Linked DNA regions of Homo sapiens: region 1 is linked to region 2. The links are contacts of gene promoters, found by promoter capture Hi-C in human tissues and cell types (Jung and others, 2019). All regions are on one chromosome and are shown on one strand. The core of a region is centred on a gene start or on the middle of the fragment in contact, and the rest is flanking DNA. Distances in the headings are between cores, read along the strand shown. Region 1 overlaps LUZP2 (leucine zipper protein 2). Region 2 holds the start of LUZP2 (leucine zipper protein 2).

Region 1 (3,523 bases), core at 571-3,070, 100 kb before region 2:
ACTTTAGAAATTTGGAAATCACAGTAACATGTGTACATTATGAAACTTAGATATTCTGCCAATGTTAAAGATTTTAATATAAACATTTACATTGTTCTACCCTAGATAGTTATTCTGCCATATAATAGTAATTTTCGTTCTTTGTGAAATAACAGTAATAGACTTCCACCTTCCCTTAATCTCACTGTACTTCTTCCCTCCAGGAATAAAGAAAAAAGTTATCAAATGGGAAGCCATATTGGTGAGCAAGCTTGAAAACAGAGGAAATGAAAAAGAACCTGATTGTGCCCATACATCCAAGGTGCTTTTCAGTTTGGCGTTTTCAATAATAATATAATAATAATAGAAATGAGTTGATATTTGCATTTTCTGCTTATATTTTTTACTTGATTCTAGGTTAGGGGAATGAAATTGTCACTCTCAAAATTCAACACATGATATCTGAAATAAAGCATTTGTGAGACAAAAATCCCCTTTCAAAATTCTGAGTCTAAATCTTCTAATAGGAAAATGCTCACTTAGCATTTTAATTTATTCAGATTAGGTCCAATTTTAACTTTATTAAAGATCACATGTGCCCATAGTGCATTTATTTATTTTCCCCATATTTATAGGGATGTATGTGTGTGTGTGTGTGTGTGTGTGTGTGTATATATATATATACACACACACACTTTAAAAGAGATTTATACATATATATGTATATATATGTGTGTGTATATATGTGTGTATATATGTATGTACATATATATGTGTGTATATATGTATGTACATATATGTTTGCATATATATACATATATACACATATATGTACATATATACATATATACACATATATGTACATATATACATATATACACATATATATACACATATATACATATATACATATATACATATATACACATATACATATATACATATATACACATATACACATATATACATATATACACATATATACGCATATATATACACATATATACACATATATACAGATATACATATATACACATATATACATATATACATATATATACATATATACACATATATATACATATACACATATATACATATATACATTTATACATATATACATATATACATATATATACATATATACATATATACATATATACATATATACATATATACATGTATACATATACACATATATATATATATACCTGTTTATTTGTGATAAACTATATCTAAACAGTCTTGTATTGCTGCCATGGATAAGAATTAATATACTTGGTTAAGTCAGAAATTCTAAGAGATTCTGAGGTATTGTGTCTTGGTTGCTGGTAAATGCTAGCAGTAAATGGAATTTATTTAATTTTTTCTCATATTATCCATTGAAACAATTTAAAATTTAAAATAGTGTTTCCATAAAATATATTGGGCAGAGAAAATTCAAATTAATTTGGATAGGCTACCCGATAAAATAATGCATGACTTTTCTTATTCAACTTCATTAGAAATGTATTTGTTTAAGTCAACTCAAAATGTGGATGTAATCTATTAAGAAAGCTGGTAAAGTAAAAAGAAACCAATAAAGAGAATCAGAACTATCATCTTTATTCTATCTTTACATAGTTATATGCATTAGTTTTCTAATTCTGCCTAAAAAAATTGTTAACTCCACCAATTTAGTGGCTTTTAACAACATACATTTGTTATCTACAATTCTATAGATCAGAAATTGAGTACCACACAGCTGACATTTCTGTATAGGGCCTCAAAATATAAACAATAATAAATTAATAAGAGTAGTTTGAGAAGGATATATTTCCAAATTCATTCCATTTGTGGGTAGAATTTGGCATCTCAAGTTTGTAGAACTGAGATCTCCATGTCTTTGATATTTGTACCCCTCCATCTTCAAGTCAGCAATGACATATTCACTTTTTCTCACACTTTAAGTCTTTCTGACTTCCCTTTATGTCTTCACCTAAGGAAAAGGTCTGCTTTTCATCTAAGAGAAAGGTTTATTTGATTAGATTGGGTTCAATCAGATCATCTAAATAATATCTTTCTTTTAAACTGAACTGATTAGTACTCTTAATTACATTTGTGAAGTCTGTTTTGCTATTTTCAGGTAACATATTCATATGAGTAACACCATGGTGAAAATCCTGCCAACGACATTGTATAACCACAGTAATTTTACTTTTTGTTTTTGTTTTTTATTGAGTCTAGCGTGTCTACCTTCTTTTTAAACAGCTATAATAGGTAATGCAAATGCATACCATGAGCACATCCTTCTCTTTTTTCCTGTGCTTACGTTTATACTACCTTTCCTTAGGCCTAGATAAAGCACTAGGCCTTTAAGACACATAATCTTACTTAATATTAAAAATGGTAGGAAGCAATCACGATCTTTATGAACAGAAGTGAGCTAAGTTTTAGTTAGAGTTTGATAATTTGCGGAAAAATACAAAGCTTCCAAGTGAAATTACTAGAATTTGAACTAGGGTGTCTCTGAGTTACAAGCTTTCCTCTCTATGAAATAACCAGAAATGGCAGCGAAACTTTTTTAACCTGTAAATTTCCATTCCCCCTCTGTTAGTTTCCTATTGCTTCATAATAAAGCACCACAAATTCGGTGGCTTAAAACAACAGAAATGTATTCTCTCAAAGTTCTGGAGGCTGGAAATCTGAAATCAAGCTCTCTCTCCTAACTTGTGGTGGTGGCCAGCATTCCTTGGTGTTTCTCATCTTGCAGCTGTATAATCCTGATCTCGGCCTAAGCTGCAACAGGGCTTTCTTCCTTCTGTGTGTCTGTGACTTCACATGATGTTACCCCATTGTGCGTGTGTGTGTGTGTGTGTGTGTGTGTGTGTGTGTGTGTGTGTGTTGTAATCTACATTATATATCCTCTTGTTTAATAAAGACACCAGTCATTGGATTAAGAGCCCACTTTACTTCAGTAGGACCCATCTTAATTTACATGAAGACCCTATTTTCAAGTAAGGTCACATTCACAGGTACCAGGTGTTAGGAATTCAACATATCTTTTATGGAGAATATTTTATAGCTGCTGTTTTTAATAATATGAGTTTACTTGAAAACAAAGAAGAGCACTGAAATGTGTTCCCCATCAACAAAATGTAACCCATGCTTATGTGTGAAAATAAGATGCAAAGAACTTTGAGTCGTGAAAAATTGCAATGTTACACAAGCCATATGAATGAGGAAAATCTTGTTTTTTTTACGTACTTTTCAAATTTAGTAGTTTCACCAAAATAGTAAGAATATATTAACAAATATCTCAGTATATCTCAGCTATTCGATGAGACTCTCAGATGTTTCTGTATTTTAAAGGCAACACAGAAAAAAACTGTGAAATATGGTAACTGAGGAGAAAGAAAAGACAATAAACAAAATAACAACCAAAATACTACAGATGTGAGTAAGGTCAATTGATCATTAGCTGCTTAGTTTGGACAGGTGTGATTGATTATCTATGCTTGCTATATTTGAATTGAGGAAGATACTGTGGCAGAACAATGACTAG
Region 2 (3,673 bases), core at 228-2,727:
TCACCTGGGCTTTGTTTGCAAGGAAAGACTAAATTTATCAATTATTGAGGGTAAATGAAATAGTCTCTACACTAAAAGGAAAGTTTGGTTACACAGGCCTGAAAGAAGGTGTGTAGATTAGGAACGGAATCAAGAATTTTACAGCCTTGATTTGTAAGACAGAGTAAGTTTTCTTCATCCTTTTCCATTTCAGAATTAGAAACAACCCTATATCCCTACTTTATTTGCCATCAGATGCACAATCAAATAATGTTTCTATTCACGTAGACTTGAAAGGATCTTCATCCTGTGTGGGTTATTTTATTTTATAGTAGCCAAGGGAAAGAGGTTGCTGCCAATATGATGCTAAGGGCATGCAGAATAAAGACAGTCCTGGGCAACTAAACAGTCCACCTTTGTGCTGCGCTTGTGGAAGAAAAAAGCAAACCCATCACAACTTTGGGACTTGATCAACAGTGGGGAGTCACAAAACTCTTCTCAATCTCTGCATTTTAAATCTCCACCAAAAATAGCTCCTCTGTAATGGGGCTTAAAGTCCCATCCATGGCCAGTGATGGAGTACAGTACTTAATTGTTTCTGACTAGGGTCTCTGCATCAGCACTCTGAGAGTGTCTTCTAACTTTTAATCGCCTTCTGTGCTCTTTAATTAGACCTGTTCACAAGACAGTCAAAAGAAAACGCCTATCACTAAGCTTATCCAAGACGTTGAAACATGCCATTTCAGGAGTCCAGGAACTTTTGTACAAGTCTTAGCATCTTCCAGGATTAATCTGTTTTCTCTGGTTTCCTCTTCCTTAAATCAGGCACACTTGGGGGAAGGGAGAAGCTCTATGGTTATTAAGACAACTCCAATGTAAAGACACTGCCTGGTGGCAATTCCCTCCTTGCCTATTTCCGTTCTTTATTTTGTTCTTTTACCGCGTGTTACCTTTTGGCTACTAATAGGACCGGAGGGTAAAATGTCTTTTCTCTCCTTCGGAAGAGAAAGCTTTTGATCCCTCACTGAGAGCAATCCTAAGACTTTCTCCAGGGGGCTGGGATAACTAGGAAAGGGCTCTGCTCTCTCAGAAGGATTTCAGAGCCCAAACCATACAGCGTCCCTCTTGCTTAGGCGGGAGATGCAAACAGCTGAAGTGCCTTGGCCCCCACTGGTGACCCACAGTAGGACCAACCTCGCCCCGGCAGCGCCCCTGGCCTCAGGTCACTCACGCTCCTGGACTCACCTGGTGCTGAGGACCAGCGCAGGCAGGAGAGGCAGCAGGTAGTGCGCTGGGCTGAATTTCATGCTGCTGCCTGCCGGGGTCCTCCTTCCCTCGCTGCCTTCTCTCTCTCTCTTCGGGATCCTGTCGCTCCTTGGTGCCCGGCTCTGTCCCCAGCCAGTGATGAGCGCTCTTCCGAGGCGGAAAGGCGGAGACGGGCACACGAACGGACGCCTGGGGAAGGCAGGCGCTGGGAGCGAGGAGTATCTTCAGGAGTGATGTCACCGGCGAGGCGAGCCCTGCCGGGGATTGTTCGGCGCCGCCGCTCCGGAGCCCGGAGGGCGCGCCGTCACTCGCGCTGGAGGCGGCGCGGGGAGAGGGAGGGGGCGCCTCGCGATCGCCCCGTGCGCTTCGGTCACCGGGCTGCGCTCTGGTCAGTCGGGTGAGCACTGGCCAGGGGCGGATCATTTATTCCCGCTGCTCCCCAGGATGGCGCGGGGCGGGGCACGGAGAGTAGAAACCTAATCTGCCGATAATTGAACTTGCGTACTCGGCAGGAGATGAGACCCAATTCACTGGGAGAGACTTCCAGACGCGTAGGGTCCTAGGCAGGTGTCTCTCGCCGCTTAAACCGTGTTTGGAAGAACGTCGCTCTGGAGAGAGTGTTTAGAAGATTGTTCTAATTAGAACTGCATAATGATTTGCCTGAAACAGATGGAAGGAAGCGGGAGTAAGCAGCGTCCAGAAATGCAACCTCAGCCCGTCATGGCATTGCAATCTTCTTAACCCGTGAATGTTGACTGCAAAGAACCAAAGAACGTTTCGGGACCGTTAAGACATCTGCTGCTCTGGGTTTTGAAGATTTCTGATCTTCCTCTGATTTCAGTCGTCTGTACCAGCACCTGCCAATGGGGTTGGACCTGGTGGCTCAAGTTCACACACCTGAAGGAGTCCTTTTCCTCAGGTGAAACTCATCAAGGAGACCTAGCGGACAAAAACCATTAAAATGTTAACAGTAATCAGCTCGGAATGATGGTACTGGAAGGTAGAGGTTTTGTAGGTCATTTGGTTTTCTATATTTTCAAATGTTCTATCATAAGCATCCAATATTTAATAGGCTCTATTTAGAAATTTTAATTAGAAAAATTAAATAGCACAATTATAATCCAAAACACCATTTTGCAAAAGCAATTCTGAGAAACAGAACTACTATCTCTGCTACTGAGATATTCAATTCTAGGATATTTATAAGATGATATTGCATGTGTGTGTGTGTGTGTGTGTGTGTGTGTGTGTGTGTGAGTGAGAGTGAGAGAGAGAGAGAGAGAGAGAATGAGAATTCCATCTGGATATTATCCTGGTTATATAACTGTGTATAAGGCACTTCTTCATACAGTATTTAATTTAATCTTCACAAGAGCCATCCTAGTGAAATAGACGTTAATATCACTATTATAGATATGAGCAGACTGAATATCATCAAAATCTGACTATGCATATTAAAAAAAAGAACTGGTTCTACTAAGTCCTAAGAAAAATTCCACTGTTGCCTCAAACATCACAACTAGCACTCCTAGCCCAGTGTTTGACACAAAGTTGTGTTCAGTAAAGGGTGAGGTGCACCAAAGTCCCGAAAGATAATGGACAGCTGTGTCCAGGAATTCCTATCTAGAGGTTTCAGTTCATGTTCCAATTATTTCGGGGGCAAGCTCTTTACAGAAAAATTTAGATGATACATCCTCTTCAATCTCATTTTCGAAGACATTTGTAGGAAAAATGCATTTGCTGTAAAGCTTTATTTTAAAGAGGATGCAAATCTAAAAGGTTAACCATCTAATTTACTATTTTTTTTAAATGGGATTGAAGGTTAAGACATGTATGTAAAACAGATTTGCTTCAAAATCTTGAGCTGCTGAACTAGATGAGTAATAAGTTTTGAAAAGTGAATATTAGCCCCTTGGGCAATAATAATAAGATCCACAACATTATCGATCTTGTATATGCCTAATAAGTAGGCATATACAAATAAACTAACATGTGAATTGCATATCATTTAAGAGAAAAAAACGACACCACACTTTTCTAAAACAGAACTCTGATTCCAAGTAAAATAAAAACTCTGGTTTGCTCCTGCCAGGGTTTTCTAACATAGATTCCCTGCTCACTTTGAAGGAGATTACTTGAGTTGTATACTCAACAAAGACATAAGGCTACTTGGCAATTTTTTTAATGTGTGCACCAGGAAATAACACTCATATTTGTAGAATACATTTTTTATATAACAACTTTGCATCCATTATCTTACGTCCTAATCATAGAAACCAAATGTGGTAGTTATTTCTAGTATTTTTCTCTTTTCCAGTTAAGGTGACAGTTTCAGAGTAGTTAAGTAACTTGCTCAAGGTCACTCAGAGACTTATATAGTGGCGATGGCATTCAAATTCAGTCTGCATTACTTCAAAATGTATGCTTA

The links. Contacts are between HindIII fragments. The study calls those that stand out against the background at their distance.
Region 1: a fragment that was not itself captured here is called in contact with the fragment with the promoter of LUZP2 in region 2 in 2 of the 25 tissues and cell types used here (hippocampus and small bowel).

The regions. Positions count from the first base shown.
Region 1 is chr11:24,599,515-24,603,037 of GRCh38, reverse strand. The region is part of intron 1 of LUZP2 (leucine zipper protein 2); the gene reads right to left. Among named protein-coding and RNA genes, the nearest start is that of LUZP2, 100 kb to the right of the region's middle. The HindIII fragment of the contact is 3,577 bases long and covers 32-3,523 here.
Region 2 is chr11:24,494,857-24,498,529 of GRCh38, reverse strand. It overlaps LUZP2 (leucine zipper protein 2), which reads right to left and starts at 1,477. Exons shown (of 12, transcript NM_001009909.4): 1 at 1,225-1,477. The coding sequence starts at 1,286. The HindIII fragment of the contact is 10,753 bases long and covers 1-3,673 here.